Linked DNA regions of Homo sapiens: all the other regions are linked to region 1. Evidence: promoter capture Hi-C in human tissues and cell types (Jung and others, 2019). All regions are on one chromosome and are shown on one strand. Each heading gives the region's core, a stretch centred on a gene start or on the middle of the fragment in contact. The rest is flanking DNA. Distances are from core to core; before and after follow the strand shown. Region 1 holds the start of RHBDF2 (rhomboid 5 homolog 2). Region 2 overlaps SRP68 (signal recognition particle 68). Region 3 holds the start of FOXJ1 (forkhead box J1). Region 4 overlaps RNF157 (ring finger protein 157).

Region 1 (3,285 bases), core at 407-2,906:
AAATCTATGGGAAGAGAGCTCGCCCTCTGCCCACCCTCCCAGCCCAGGGATATTTGAGCTCAAGGGCTGCCTCAGCCCAGCCTTCCTGGGAGATTGCCCTGGGGTTAAGCACCCCAGGCCTGGGCTGCAAGGGGGTCCTCTGTTCCCAACCTCTCCCCCACAGCACCTAGACCAGCTTCCTGCAGGGCCAGTGGAGATTGGGAAAGGCGGTGTCTCATGGCACCAAAGGAAGACTCTTGTGAGGGGAATAAGTGCCCTCACACTGCCTTACCCCTCATCTCATTCAGGTTTATTCCAAGTTCCTCCCCTAACCACTCTGGAAAACTGAGGTAGTTTCCCCAGTGAGGGAGCATCATTGAGAAGGAACCTGATGGACCAGCTGCTGCGCAGGGTTTCTCAGCCTCAGCACAGCCCAACACCTTGGGCTGGATAATTCCTCGTTATGTGGGCTGTTCCGTGCCCTGAAGATGTCTGGTAGCGTCCCTGGCCTCTACCCACTACCTGCCAGTAACAACAACACTCACTTCCCCTCCCAAGTGTGTGACACCCAAAATGACTCCAACATTGCCAAATATCCCATGGCAGGCAAAGTCGCCCCTGGTTGAGAACCACAGCTCTAAAACACGCCTCCCTTTCCACTGCCTGCCCTACGGACAGTGAGGGTCGAATAAGGCAGATGCTGGTCTCATTATATTACCAGCAAATGGCACACACTGGGGGCCTGATGCCAGCCGCCCAGGCAACAGCAGCCTCTCCCCAAGTGGGGTCAGCTCCCCACCGCCTTCTGCTCCTCAGACACACCCGCTGCCACCCTCTCAGTAGCTCCAACCCTAGAGCCCCCTCCGTTAATCTTTCATGGAATGGGGCAGGGCCAAAACCTAGGCTTCCTTTGCGCCCTGGCGTGGGAGTGGGGCGGGGTCTGTACCCTAGGGAACTTATCCGTCTCTATCCCAATGCCCTGGGGGAACATCCGAGGGGCCAAACAGGTAAAAGGCAAGCCCAGGGCCAACCTTCCCCAGCCCCTCCATCCAGAAGTCAGGACTCCTGGGTCCAATTTCTGAGCTCCGGTCCAGCCCTGCTGTGTGAGTCCCTCATCCCCACCCCCGCACCTGTTTCCACCTTGGCTGGCTCAACCAACAAACTTCGGCCCCGGTCCGCCCGGTGCTCACCCGGGAGAAAGTGGAGGGGAGAGAAGGGTCTGAACTGCAGGCACTTCTGGGACGCAGGCGGGACTGCCCTGCGCAGTCTCCTCTCTTCCTCCGGAGGTTTAAATCTCTGCCCAATCGTCTTGCCCCTACATCTGGCGCCCCGTCGCCCAGGGACCCCTTAGGCGTCCTGTCCGAGCCGAGCCCTAGGGGCCAGCAGACCGGGTCCAGCGGCCCCGCCGGCGCCGTCTGAGCCAGCCCGGGCCTCCAGCCGAGCCCACGTGGGACCCAGGCGCTCCGCAGGGCGGGCACCGGGCACTGGGCACCCTTCCTGGCCGCGCACCACCGCTCCAGGGCAGGCTCGGGCACAACCTCGGGACCCTTCCGGCGCCTGCGGCTGGGCGGCCGTGAGTCCTGCCCCGCTCGTCGCCCCGCGCTCACCTCCCTGCGGCCCCAAGTCCCCGGGACGCAACTCCGTGCGGCGCCTGCGAGCGGCTGGGCGGTGGCTCCTCGGGGGCGGGGCGGCGGCGCTCCGCCTCTTCCCTACCTGCGCGCGGGCGGCCGGGAGGCGGGGCTGGGCTCCAGGGGGCGTGGCCGGGCTCATGGGGGCGGGGCCTGGACGCAGTCTTTGCTCAGTCGGCTTCCTGGGTTCCTGCCTCCGCCCTCCACCCAGCTGGGTCCCCGCCTGGGCAGAGCCCTGTTTTCGCCTGAGCTGGTCTCTTCAGGGCGCCGTCCTTTCCCTCTTGGCGTCCTCACTCCACCCCAGACCAAACACGTCATCTAGGTCTTGATTGCCGTCTTCAAGTCGCCCCTCCCCATCAAGAAAAAGCACCCAATCTCCCATCCCCTTCTTCCAGCGCCCTCATCCTCAGGCCAAGTGGGCCTGTTCCCTTGACCCTTTTAGTCTGTAGTCACACTCTCTCCGGGAAGCTGGGCCTGAACACCTCCTCTCCCTCCTGGACCCTGAGGCCTCTCTCCTAGCTCTGCTGTGCCCTTGGGTTGGGAACAGGCACTCCGTGGAGGTCCTATCTGCATTTGCCCTGCAGCTAAGGCCAACATTTGTGACTCCTGCCAACCCCCTACACACCCCGTAGAAGCATTGACAGAACCCACCCAGCTCTGGCCCTTCCAGCTGCCATGCGGGCCAGAGCCAGACTGGAGATTGGGGACGCTGGCGACACCTGGCCCCTTGGCTTGGGTCTGTCTGCCCAGGTGGTTCCTTCTCTCTTCCCTGGACTCCAAGGGCCTGCCTCTTGGGACTAGACAAACAAAACCTTGGCCAGGGCAGCTAGGACCGAACTCCAAGGTCTGGATGCCCCGTTCTCAGCCCCAGCGCTTATCATCTCGCCGTCCCTCTCCAGGAGGCCTGGCTAGGCCAGGAGGAGCAGAGTTTGAAGAGACTCAGGCTTGGAGGGGTGGGGGTGGGGTTGTCAGGGCCAAGGCAAAACCTCTGGCCCTTAGAGAGCTCCTGAGCCACCCTGCCCCCCAACCCAAGGACTCTGGTGTTTATTGCTGACCTGGGTGGAGGTGGGGAGCACCTGGCTGCTGGAGATTATCCTGAGAGATGCATCTCTCCTCCCCAGCTCTGGGGCCATGAGGAGGGCACAGGCTGGAAGGAGGGGGAGTGGGCCAAAGCTGGGGTGGGGGTTGCTCCTAGTAACAAATGTAAGGGACCATTTATTGTGCAACCAGCACATCCTGGGGTTATGTGCAGAGAGGAACAAAACCAGGGCCTGCCCACGAAGTGCCAGCATTCTACAGGGAGACGTTGGAACTCAATACTGTAACAGGAAGGGTGAGAGCAGCTAGCCATTCCAAAGTGCTTTAGTCTGTATAATCCGCAGTACAGGTCTATGAAGTGGGTACCATTATGATCATCCCCATTTTAGGGATGAGAAAACTGAGGCAGAGGGAGATGTGAGGGGAGCAGCTGGGGTTTAAACTCGGTCATGATCTGACTTTAGACTCTAACAAACACTGCTGCAAATGCCTGAGCTGGGTTCTCTCTCCTGGAGCTCTACTGGAAGCTCTGCAGGAGTCCCCAGGAGGGGAGGGATTCATGGTGGTGCTTAAGCTGGTGTCAGGGATTTGTCCCATGCAAACATGGCGTGCTGCCCGGCCACATAGGTGCAGGGAGGCT
Region 2 (3,285 bases), core at 433-2,932, 430 kb before region 1:
GGCTGCAGTAAGCTATGATCCCACTGCTACACTCCAGCCTGGGTGACAGTGAGACCCTGTCTCAAAAAAAAAAAAAAAAAAAAAAGGGAGAGTCCAGATTTCTCCCAACTGGTTCTCATGAGATTTAATCACTACATCCTGCTGCATCCTATTATGGTCTCCAGGCTCTAGCTTTCTGACTGTACACACCAAGCTCACAACCTTTTCACTGCCTGAGTAGCAGCTAACAAGTGTCCAGAGCTTTACAGTTCCTAGACTGCATGCACGGATACCAGGGCATGCTGCTTCCCCCGACACAGAATGTTCTTCACTCTCACAAATCCTTCAAGGTCAAGCCTCCTCTGTGTGGGCTTACTGACTTCCCTGTCAAAAGCCTTCAAGCTCAAGTCTCCTTTCCAAGGCTTTAGAATGCTGAACAGTAAATGATATACAACATTGCACTTTTACTGTAGCATTCCCTGGTTTGCACTGACCAACATTTTCCAATAAGATGAAAGTCAATGAGGTTCAAGGACCATGCCTCCTCTCCTTCTATATCTAGTGTGTCACAACTACTCTGCTGATGTAGCACAAAGCAGCTCTAAACAATACCTATGTGAATGGGCGTGGCTGGGTTCCAATAAAACTTCATTTACACAAAAGGTGGCAGCAGCGTAATTTGGCCCGTAACTGTGAGGAAGACCCGGGGGCCTTGACTACATGTTGCCTGACAGACTAAAAATTCTTCAGCAAATGCCAAGCACTGGTGTATTCAGCACTGAAATACAAGACTCTTCTATAATAATTTACACACCAGCCTGGCGCAGTAGCTCACGTCTGTAATCCCAGCACTTTGGAAGGCAAGAGGTGGGTGGATCACCTGAGGTCAGGAGTTCAAGACAAGCCTGGCCAACATGGTGAAACCCTGTCTCTACTAAAAATACAAAACTCAGCTGGGCGTGGTGTCACGTGCCTGTAATCCCAGCTACTCCGGAGGCTGAGGCAGGAGAAGCTTGAACCCGGGAGGTGGAAGTTGCAGTGAGGTGAGACGACACCACTGCACTCCAACCTGGGCAACAGAGTGAGACTCCGTCTCAAAAAAAAAAAAAAACACACCACTCAACCACTCAATTTCATTAAGATATATTGATATATGCATCTAGTTTCAGACATTGAAATTTATATTCTAGAAACCTTACCTAATAATCAATTAGATTCTAATCACTGACTTCAACATTTGCCATCCCAACAGGTTTTTTTTTTTTTTTTTTGGTTTTAAAAAGCAGAGTTTAATAGGCAAGAAGGGAGAAGAAGCTTCCCTGTACAGAGACAGAGGAAGGGGGGCTCCAAAGCTGAGACAGTGAATCTCACCCCCTCCTTTTTTTTTTTTTGAGATGGAGTGTCACTCTTGTTGCCCAGGCTGAAGTGCAATGGTGTGATCTTGGCTCACTGCAACCTCTGCCTCCCGGGTTCAAGTAATTCTTGTGCCTCAGCCTCCTGAGTAGCTGGGATTACAGGCGCCTGCCACCATGCCCGGGTAATTTTTATATTTTTAGTAAAGTAGGGGTTTTGCCATGTTGGCCAGGCTGGTCTTGAACTCCTGACCTCAGGTGATCCACCCACCTTGGCCTCCCAACGTGCTGGGATTATAGGCGTGAACCACTGCACCTGGCCCCAACACAGTTCTTGAACAACCTAATGTATCTCTTTGAGCCTCAGTTTCCTTGCCTTAGAACACAGGAATAGTAAACAATGCCCAGCCCACAGAGATAATTAAAAGGTTTGGCATGAAGTCTACCACGTCATTGTTCAATAAATGTATTAGCAAGAAGTAATTTGCAACTAGCATGGAGCAGTCAATACCTATTATCGGTCAGAAGCTCTTCAGTCACTTTCTTCCCTGTGAATTTGTGTCTGTTACCCATCTTGAAGTTGAGTGTTTTTCGAAGACGTCTTTGTCTACGGGAACAGTAGCCCCTGTAAGAAACCACAAACAAAACTCACTCAGCCAAGCTGAGAGTATTTTGAATAATAAATTCTGCAATAAGGCAAGGTCAAGGGTCAATGGTTTGGGATATTATACTTATGGTTACTAGAATTATCACATATCAGCTTCCAAACATTTTTTTCTTTTCTTTGAGACAGAGTCTGGCTCTGTCACCCAGGCTGGAGTGCAGTGGTGTGATCTTGGCTCACTGCAGCCAGGCTCAGTCAATCCTCCCACCTCAGCCTCCTGGGTAGATGTGACCAACAGAGGTGTACCACCACACATGGCTAATTTTTGTACTTTTTGTAGAGACAGGGTTTCACTATGTCACCCAGGCTGGTCTCGAAATCCTTGGACTCCAGCAATCCGCCCACCCCAGCCTTCCAAAGTGCTGGGATTACAGGCATGAGCCACCATACCCGGCCCTAAACATTTATTGAACAACTAAAACATGGAGGGCAATATGATTGGTATTATAGGAAACACAAAGAGATGGAGGACACAGTGCCCATGTTCAAGGAACCCACATTAAAATTGAGTAGAATCATGCAGAGAAAATGGCAACCAAGAAAACAAGGCAAATGTCAAGTTGAAAGGACATGGGTAATCATTCTCTTGTTAGCACCTTCAGCTGCAGTGGACTGATGGCGGGGCCTAGAAAGAATGAGGGGCTGGGTGCAGTGGCTCACACCTGTAATCCCAGCACTTTGGGAGGCCGAGGTGGGCGGATCACTTGATGTCAAGAGTTCGAGACCAGCCTGCCCAACATGCAGAAACCCCGTCTCTACTAAAAATACAAAATTAGCCAGTTGTGGTGGCACATGCCTGTAATCCCAGCCTACTCGGGAGGATGAGGCAGGACATTCGCTTAAACTCAGGAGGTGGGGGTTGCGTTGAGCCAAGATTGCGCCATTGCACTTCAGCCTGGGCAACAACAGTAAAACTCCGTCTCGAAAAAAAAAAAAATTAGCCAGGCATGGCGGGCGGGCGCCTATAATTCTAGCTACTCGGGAGGCTGAGGCAGAGAACTGCTTAAACCCGGGAGGTGGAGGTTGCAGTGAGCCGAGAACACGCCATTGCACTCCAGCCTAGGCAACAGAGCAAGACTGTGTCTGAAAAAAAAAAAAAAAAAGAAGAAGAAGAAGAATGAGGAGGATTCTAATAAATGTAAAGAAAGCAGGGAAAGGGGCATCCTGAGGAAGACTAAGATGACACCAAACATATGGAGAAAGAACTGCAGGCAGGTCTGAAGAAAAGTGAGGAAGCCAATTAGGTTATCGCCAAGAAGCACTACAAATGTCACCTCTATGCCAAGCCTC
Region 3 (3,285 bases), core at 569-3,068, 360 kb before region 1:
AAGGGCAGGACGTAGAGCCTGGCAGGGAGGCCACGTTCCAGTTTCCGTTTCTGACTCCCGGCCCCGACAAACCATCCCGGGGCAGGGCAGTGTCTAGGAATTCTAGGACTTGGGACAAGAATGCGCCTTCAGTTCATCGCTCTCCCCAAGGAGATTCTGTCCACGCAGAGTCTAGCCCTGGTCTTTGGCCTGGGCCTGCTGGATGAATGGCAGGTTATTTCCCCTTGAATCTCAGCCTCTGCACCCCTAAAGCCCTCCACCTCTGGACATTCTCCCTTCTCTCTCTCTCTCTCTCTGGAAGTCAAAGGAGGGGCAGTTGCAAGAACTGGGCTCCTTTGCAGGGCTCCCTTCTGGGGCGCTGGCCGCACCGCAGAGCCTACTTGGCCTGCAGATTTGGGATATGAATCCAGTGCAGCGTGGGGAGCGAGGAGGGAATGGGGAGGGAGCGGCCGCCGCCCGTGCCTCCTCTACCTGCCAGGTGGGATCTGCGTGGCGGAAGTAGCAGAAGTTGTCCGTGATCCACTTGTAGATGGCCGACAGGGTGATCTTGGTGGCCTTGCTGGCCTGCATGGCCATGCAGATGAGCGTGGCATACGAGTAGGGAGGCTTCACGTGCGGATTGGTGGCGTAGTCCACGTCGTCGGGGGGTGGGGCCTGCAGCCCCGGGGGCGCGCTCCGCGACGTGCACGACGACGTGGGCTTGCCCGGCGTGTGTGGCTGCCCCAGGCAGGCGGGGTCGGCCGCCAGGGGGGACCCGGGCGCCGCTGAACCTGGCACCTGGTGGTAGCCGTGGGGGTCGGTGCCCCCCGGGGGCAGGGCGGGGGCCTTGGCGTTGAGAATGGAGAATTCCTGCAGCCACTGCAGGCTGGTCAGGCTGTCATCCAGGGCGTCGGGCTCCTCCAGGCCGCCCTCCGGCCCGGCCTCCTCCGCCGGCCCGGCTCCCGAGAGGCGCAGCCAGCTCTCCGCCATGTCTGCGGGGACTCTCCGAGGGGGCGGTCAGCATCCACGGGCTGAGCCGGGGGTGGCCCGCCGCGCTCTCTGGCCCGCTGAGTCCCGCAGCTCCCGTTACACGGCCTCCCGGACGCGCGCTTCCATCTCGCGACCCCGGGGGCGCCTCCTCCGAATAAGTATGTGGTGCCTGCGAGGACCACGGTGGGAGCTGAGCACTACCCCACCCCCGAGGGGACAGTGTGTGTACGGGGACGCCCTCTCTAACATCATCCCCGCAGCTGGGGAGGATCTTTTAGTGCCGAGGTATGGGAAACAGAAGCAAGGCCCTGGGGTCCCACCCCCATCAGATCTGCCTCCCTCTTCCTTTCCTCTTCGAGGTTTTATTAGCCAAATGAAGAGGGTAGGGGCATCCGAGGCTATCCTTTTCTCCCGAAGAGCAGGAAATCAGGACCCCCTTCCTCCTCGCAACAAATGGAAGTGGGGCGAGAAGTTTGGGAGGGCGGTACGACGGGGCGGGGGCGGTGGAGGTCCTCTGATCCTTGAAAAGGAATATTATGATAGGGGATCATTGGGAAGGAAGGGGACGGAACAGTAACGGGGGGCAGGAGGCGAGTTTCCCCCAGACTTCTCCGATGTCAGTCCCTGGGCCCACCACTTCCGTTAAGGACGAATGAGAGAGCGGGTTGGTACCGTTGCCCACCCTTCCCCCTGGCCTGCAGCCCTCCCCATCCCTTACCTGGCTCAGAGCGCAGCCCGGGCCAGAGGAAGGTTCTGGAAGAAGTTGCTCCCACCCCCTGCGGCTCTCTGCCCCCAGCTCGGGGGCCCTGCCAGCGCCTCTTGCCGCCCCCCCGCCCGACGGCGCTTCTCTGAGCTACCGCGGCCCCGGGACCGGCATTAAGTAGCCGCTCCAAAGGCTTCTCCTGCTGCCATGGCGACGCTCCGCCCCCATAAACAGCTTCCGCCTCTGCCATTGGCCAGCACGTCTCCAAGGAGACCGCGGGCACTTGCCACTCTCCCTGGCGGCAACTCTCTTCGAACTCCCTCCTTCTGCCGCCCTCTCCCGCGCCACCCAACCCCCTACCCGCCGCTAAGTCCCGGCTCGGCTCATTCCCGCCCGAGGGCCCCGCGCTGGGGTCGGAGAAGCGCGCGGCCTGCGGCACCGGGAACCGCTATGGATCCGTTCGTTCTGGGGAACCAAGACTCTCGCCCCCACCCCCTTCCTGTCCCGTACGCTTTGAGGCGTCGACTGCTCCTGGGACGGAGCCTGGGGTTGGGGGGCTAAGGCTGGGAGCGGGCTCAGGCTCGGGAACCGTATCCTTGAGGTTTTCTTTCCTCTCCGCTACGAGTGGCACTTTCTCATGTTTCTGCAGCCTTTCCCTCTCCCCCGACTCTTAGGGTCTTTCTCTGGTGTCCCAGGCAGGTCTGACTTTCCGATGCCACCTGCCGCTTACATCCACAGAGGCGGCAGACACACCAAGGGGGTAGGGTAATCCAGTGTGTCCCAGTAAGCAGCTCCTTCCCCACCCGTATCCTCGAGGTTCCAGGAAGCTGACATTCCAGAGGCTTCTGCAGAAGCGCACTCACTCCTCTGGAGACAGCTGATGAAGCAGAGCCCGTGGGTAAAACTCTGAAGTCATGGACTTGTCAAATTCTCCTAGCGGGGTCATTTGCCCAATTAATTTCACCAACCTTTAAGTCACAGGGATTAAGAGTAGAGGGACTCTGGGGACTGTGTCCCTTCCTCCTCCCTTCCCCTGGCCTCCCTCCTGTCACCAGCTTTCCTGCTCTTTAATTATTGAGGAGCTGCAGGGTTGGACGTTCTCCGGTTTAAGGCGGCTGCAGAGGCAGTGGTGGGGGCTGGGTTGATTACCCCGCCTCTGCCCAGGAGCTGGAGAGCCGGGGTCGGGGAGGCTGGTGCCCAGACCATGAAGAAGGCCCGGCTATGGCGCATCACTCCCCCGCCAACATGCCTTTCCCTAGCCCTTGCCTCTCCCACTCCTCCAACTCCAGATCCTCTTGAGTAAAAGTATTAAAGAGTGCTGGCGAAAGTCAGACAGAAACTTTCACAGATAAGCTCACTTTGCAGTTAGCTCTCCTTCCCTTGTAAACAGTTTTATTCATTTTTAAGAATCATGCAGCAATCCATAAATATTGCATTCTTGATGTCCCCACTGTAGTGTGACCACAAGTGTACTCCAGGGAGAGGGGTACACAGATGGCACAAGCAGTATACACATGCACACACCAGGTGTGCAGACCAAAGCAAAGTGAGCGACCAGCGTGCTAAACTCCAGGTGGGCAGGACCCCAACTCCCAGGTGAGGTGGGCAGGACC
Region 4 (3,285 bases), core at 272-2,771, 320 kb before region 1:
GACATGGTAAAACTGAAATTCTAGTTCAGATCCCATCTGTGGCCTGTTTCTCCTCCCCCAACTTTCCTAGGCTGTCATACTAAAGGAATTTAAAACAATTTTTAAATAAGCTTAAGCAAAAAGTAATTAGGCAGGAAAATCCGACACAAACGCTAGTCTATTCTAAAGCCAAAATAAATGACTTTGGGATTAAAATTTTTTTCTGGAGTAGCAAAGTTAATCATTTTCATTTGTACAGGTACTTGGGCGTTATCCATAACTCCTACCTGCATTTCAAAAAAAAGATGCGTCTTTTCCCTTATTCTTTACTCTTTCTCCTCCATAGCCACTCCCTGCCGCAAAAGAGAGAAAAATAAAAAGAAAGAAAAAAAAATCCTGGCACTCTTTATCCTCCATTTTGAATATATTTGATGATAACTGTGGCAATGAAACATAAGCTATTTGGCTCTTAAGGAAAGGTATCAATGAGTTCAATTGTTTATAAATCCACCCCTATACTTTAGGCTCTCCCTGTACACACACATACACGCACAAGACAACAACGGCAAATCTGTTCAGGAGAAGCTTGTTCGTGGGCTGCTACCCACCAAAGTTTGTGCCTTGCTGGCCTTGCATTCATGCAATCAGAGTCTACATGCAACACTCCATGCCAGGAGTAAGGAGAGATTGAAAACCAAGAAGATAAGGCCCTGCTCTTTCAGGAAGCTGCATTATAAGGCAGCTGACATAGTAATTGTAATATCAAAGAGATTAAATATATGGATATTTTTTTGCCACAAAAGGCAAAAATAAAGGAAGTGATCATTTCTGGCTGAGGTAATCTGAAGGCTTCATGGAGGAGTTGGTAGTTGATCTGGGATCCTAAAGGATAAATGAAATTTGCAAATTCAGAGATAACAGAGAAGATGGAGGGGACAGTAGGATCAGAGGCAAATTAAAAAAAATTTTTTTTCTGCTCTTAGAGTTGTCTCCCATTCTTCTGTAAATCGATTTTGCCTACTATTACTCTCGAAATTTCTTAGTGAGTTATCTTCCTTTCAAAAATTACCATTTATTGAGTGCTTACTATTGATGACAGTGGTGGGCTGTCCAGAGCAGCCGCTGCCATCACAACGGCTGCTGCAGGGGGGTCGCAGGGAGCAGACAGACAGCCCCTCCACAGCTTGCCGCCCTGGAGGCCACCCCATGGGGCTGGCCGGGTTACCCACCAGCAGAGGAGCAGCGTGGCAGAAGAGCAGCGCGGTAGGGCAAAGAGGAGCCCCGAGGCGGAGCTGGGCCTTGGCCAGTGTCCCGCTTGCTCATGGAGCGCCAGGGCCAGGCCTGGGCGCGGAGCTGGGGCCATGCTTCAGGGGCCCCGGGCAGGAAGTGGGAGCAGCTTCCGCTTCGGGCACCTGGCCATTGGCGCAGCCACTGTGCCCACCCTGCCGAGGGTGCCAGGTTCCTGTGCCTCGGGAGGAGGTTCTGCGCAGCCCGTCTGGGGCTGCGCCCCCAGGTCTGCCCCACATTGGGGTGACCACTGAGCCTGACACTCCTGGGCAGATGGCCTGGCCCAGGCCCAGGCCCAGGATCCACTCTGTCCCAGACTGCCCGTGAAGCACCGGGGGAACAGGCAGAGCTCATGGCGATGTCACCCTGCCCTGGACACTGGCCCCGGCCCTGGCCCCGGCCCAGTGAGGACCTGGAGCCCCTGCCCCAGGCTGCAAGGGGGTGCTGCAGGGGCTGCATGCTCCACAGAGCCGGTGGAAGCCAGGAACAGGCAGCAGCCCCGCCTTGGGCTGTGGATCGGGGGCCTCCATAAGCTCTTGGAGACACGGAAAAGCCCTCCCACCCCCCCGCCCCAGCAGGCTCGGAAGTGCCTGCTCCTGCCGCCTAGCTTCTGCTTGCTCTTGGTGCTGGCTCTGATCTTAGAGCAGTGTGGGGCCAAGCCAAGGTGCTGTTGCAGCCAGGCTAGGAGTGCACATGCTCGGGGTAGCGCTGACAAGCCAGCCCCCTGCTGCCTCGGCCCCTTCCAGACTTTGGGCACTGATGAGCATGAGGGAAGGGGAAGGGGGAGAGGCGAGGGGGTGCTGAGGGCAGCTTGGTGCTGGCCTTCAGGGAGGACGTGAAGGCTGGGGGCCTGGCTGCCAGTCCCGCCCACTGGAGTGGGAACTTGTGTTGCCTTTTCTAGGCCTGCCCATGGATGCCCAGGGACCAGTCTACCTGCACTTCCTCCCCTCTGAGGCCCATAAAAGGCCCAGGCTCAGCCAGAACAGAGCAGAGGTTGGGACCACCAGCTGCAGAGAGGAGCAACCTACTCCAGTGCCTCCTCTCTGCTGATAGCTGCAGAGATGTCCATAAGACCAGCTGCAGAGAGGAGCTACGCACTCCAGGGCCTCCTCTCTGCTGAGAGCTGCAGAGAAGACAGGATGACCTTCCTGCGGAAAAGAGCTTCCCACTCCAGGGTCTCTATGCTAGGACACTTGTCAGGACACCCTGGCTGCGGAAAGAGCTACCCACTGCGGGTATCCTCTGAGCTGTTCCAAGGCTCAATAAGGCTCCTCTTCGTCTTGCTCACCCTATGTTTGTCTGTGTATCTCATTCTTCCTTGTTGCAGGACAAGAATTTTGGACCCATGGAATGGTGGGACTAAAAGAGCTGTAACACAAACAGGACTGAAACATGCTCCTTGCTTGTCATGTTGCAGGCAAAGAGGAGAGAAGAGCTGTGGCCCGTCGGGGAGCCCAGACCTGGGAGCTGCCCAAGCCAGGGCTATGACTTCCTCTTTGTGGCCCTGTAGTTCCTGGCATCTCCAAGCTTCCGGGTGCCACCACATTCCCTGGTGCCAACCGGGAGAGCTGCTTGCAGTGCACCTGGTCCAGCCACAGCCTCGCAGACAGCTGGCACCTATACTGGCACCTGGGGCTGCCAGCCCCACAGCGGCAGCTGGCGTGTCTGACTGCACAGTGGCCGGACCCCACTCTCGCTCACACACCCCTTGCTGCTCCATGCCTGACTTGCAGTCTCCCTTGGAGGCGTGGGATATAGGCTGGTAGTGTGAGCTGAGTGCAGCCTGTCAGGCCAAGTGGGTGGAAGAAGCCCAATGTGCCTGAGCCGAACCTGTGCAAGGCACCACTGGCCACAGGTTTCCAGCCAGAAAAGTGACACCCCAAAGATCACATAATACTATGTGCCAGGCACTATGCTGAGCTCTTTATTTATATTATCTTATTTAATCTTTGGAGGAATCCTGTGAAATAGTCATGGTTGTTCCCATTTTTGCAGGTAAGAAAACAGAGGTTGCAAAGA

The links. The method cuts DNA at HindIII sites, captures the fragments that hold promoters and counts their contacts. A contact is called where the count stands out against the background at its distance.
Region 2: a contact is called between a fragment that was not itself captured here and the fragment with the promoter of RHBDF2 in region 1, in 1 of the 25 tissues and cell types used here (adrenal gland).
Region 3: the fragment with the promoter of FOXJ1 here is called in contact with the fragment with the promoter of RHBDF2 in region 1 in 1 of the 25 tissues and cell types used here (heart left ventricle).
Region 4: a fragment that was not itself captured here is called in contact with the fragment with the promoter of RHBDF2 in region 1 in 2 of the 25 tissues and cell types used here (adrenal gland and dorsolateral prefrontal cortex).

Annotation. Positions count from the first base shown.
Region 1 is chr17:76,499,767-76,503,051 of GRCh38, forward strand. It overlaps RHBDF2 (rhomboid 5 homolog 2), which reads right to left and starts at 1,657. Exons shown (of 19, transcript NM_001005498.4): 1 at 1,587-1,657. RefSeq lists enhancers at 915-1,584, 1,935-2,074 and a silencer at 1,245-1,884. The HindIII fragment of the contact is 32,589 bases long and covers 1-3,285 here.
Region 2 is chr17:76,065,375-76,068,659 of GRCh38, forward strand. It overlaps SRP68 (signal recognition particle 68), which reads right to left. Exons shown (of 16, transcript NM_014230.4): 3 at 1,843-1,956. Among named protein-coding and RNA genes, the nearest start is that of SRP68, 5.5 kb to the right of the region's middle. The HindIII fragment of the contact is 4,397 bases long and covers 1-3,285 here.
Region 3 is chr17:76,139,427-76,142,711 of GRCh38, forward strand. It overlaps FOXJ1 (forkhead box J1), which reads right to left and starts at 1,819. Exons shown (of 3, transcript NM_001454.4): 1 at 1,688-1,819; 2 at 472-1,138. The coding sequence starts at 969. RNF157 (ring finger protein 157) reads right to left here. Exons shown (of 19, transcript NM_052916.3): 19 at 3,048-3,285. It overlaps RNF157-AS1 (RNF157 antisense RNA 1), which reads left to right and starts at 1,130. Exons shown (of 8, transcript NR_040017.1): 1 at 1,130-1,254. RefSeq lists an enhancer at 1-245 and silencers at 657-846, 907-976, 1,655-1,814. The HindIII fragment of the contact is 16,722 bases long and covers 1-3,285 here.
Region 4 is chr17:76,175,482-76,178,766 of GRCh38, forward strand. All of the region lies in intron 2 of RNF157 (ring finger protein 157), which reads right to left. Among named protein-coding and RNA genes, the nearest start is that of FOXJ1, 36 kb to the left of the region's middle. The HindIII fragment of the contact is 4,379 bases long and covers 1-3,285 here.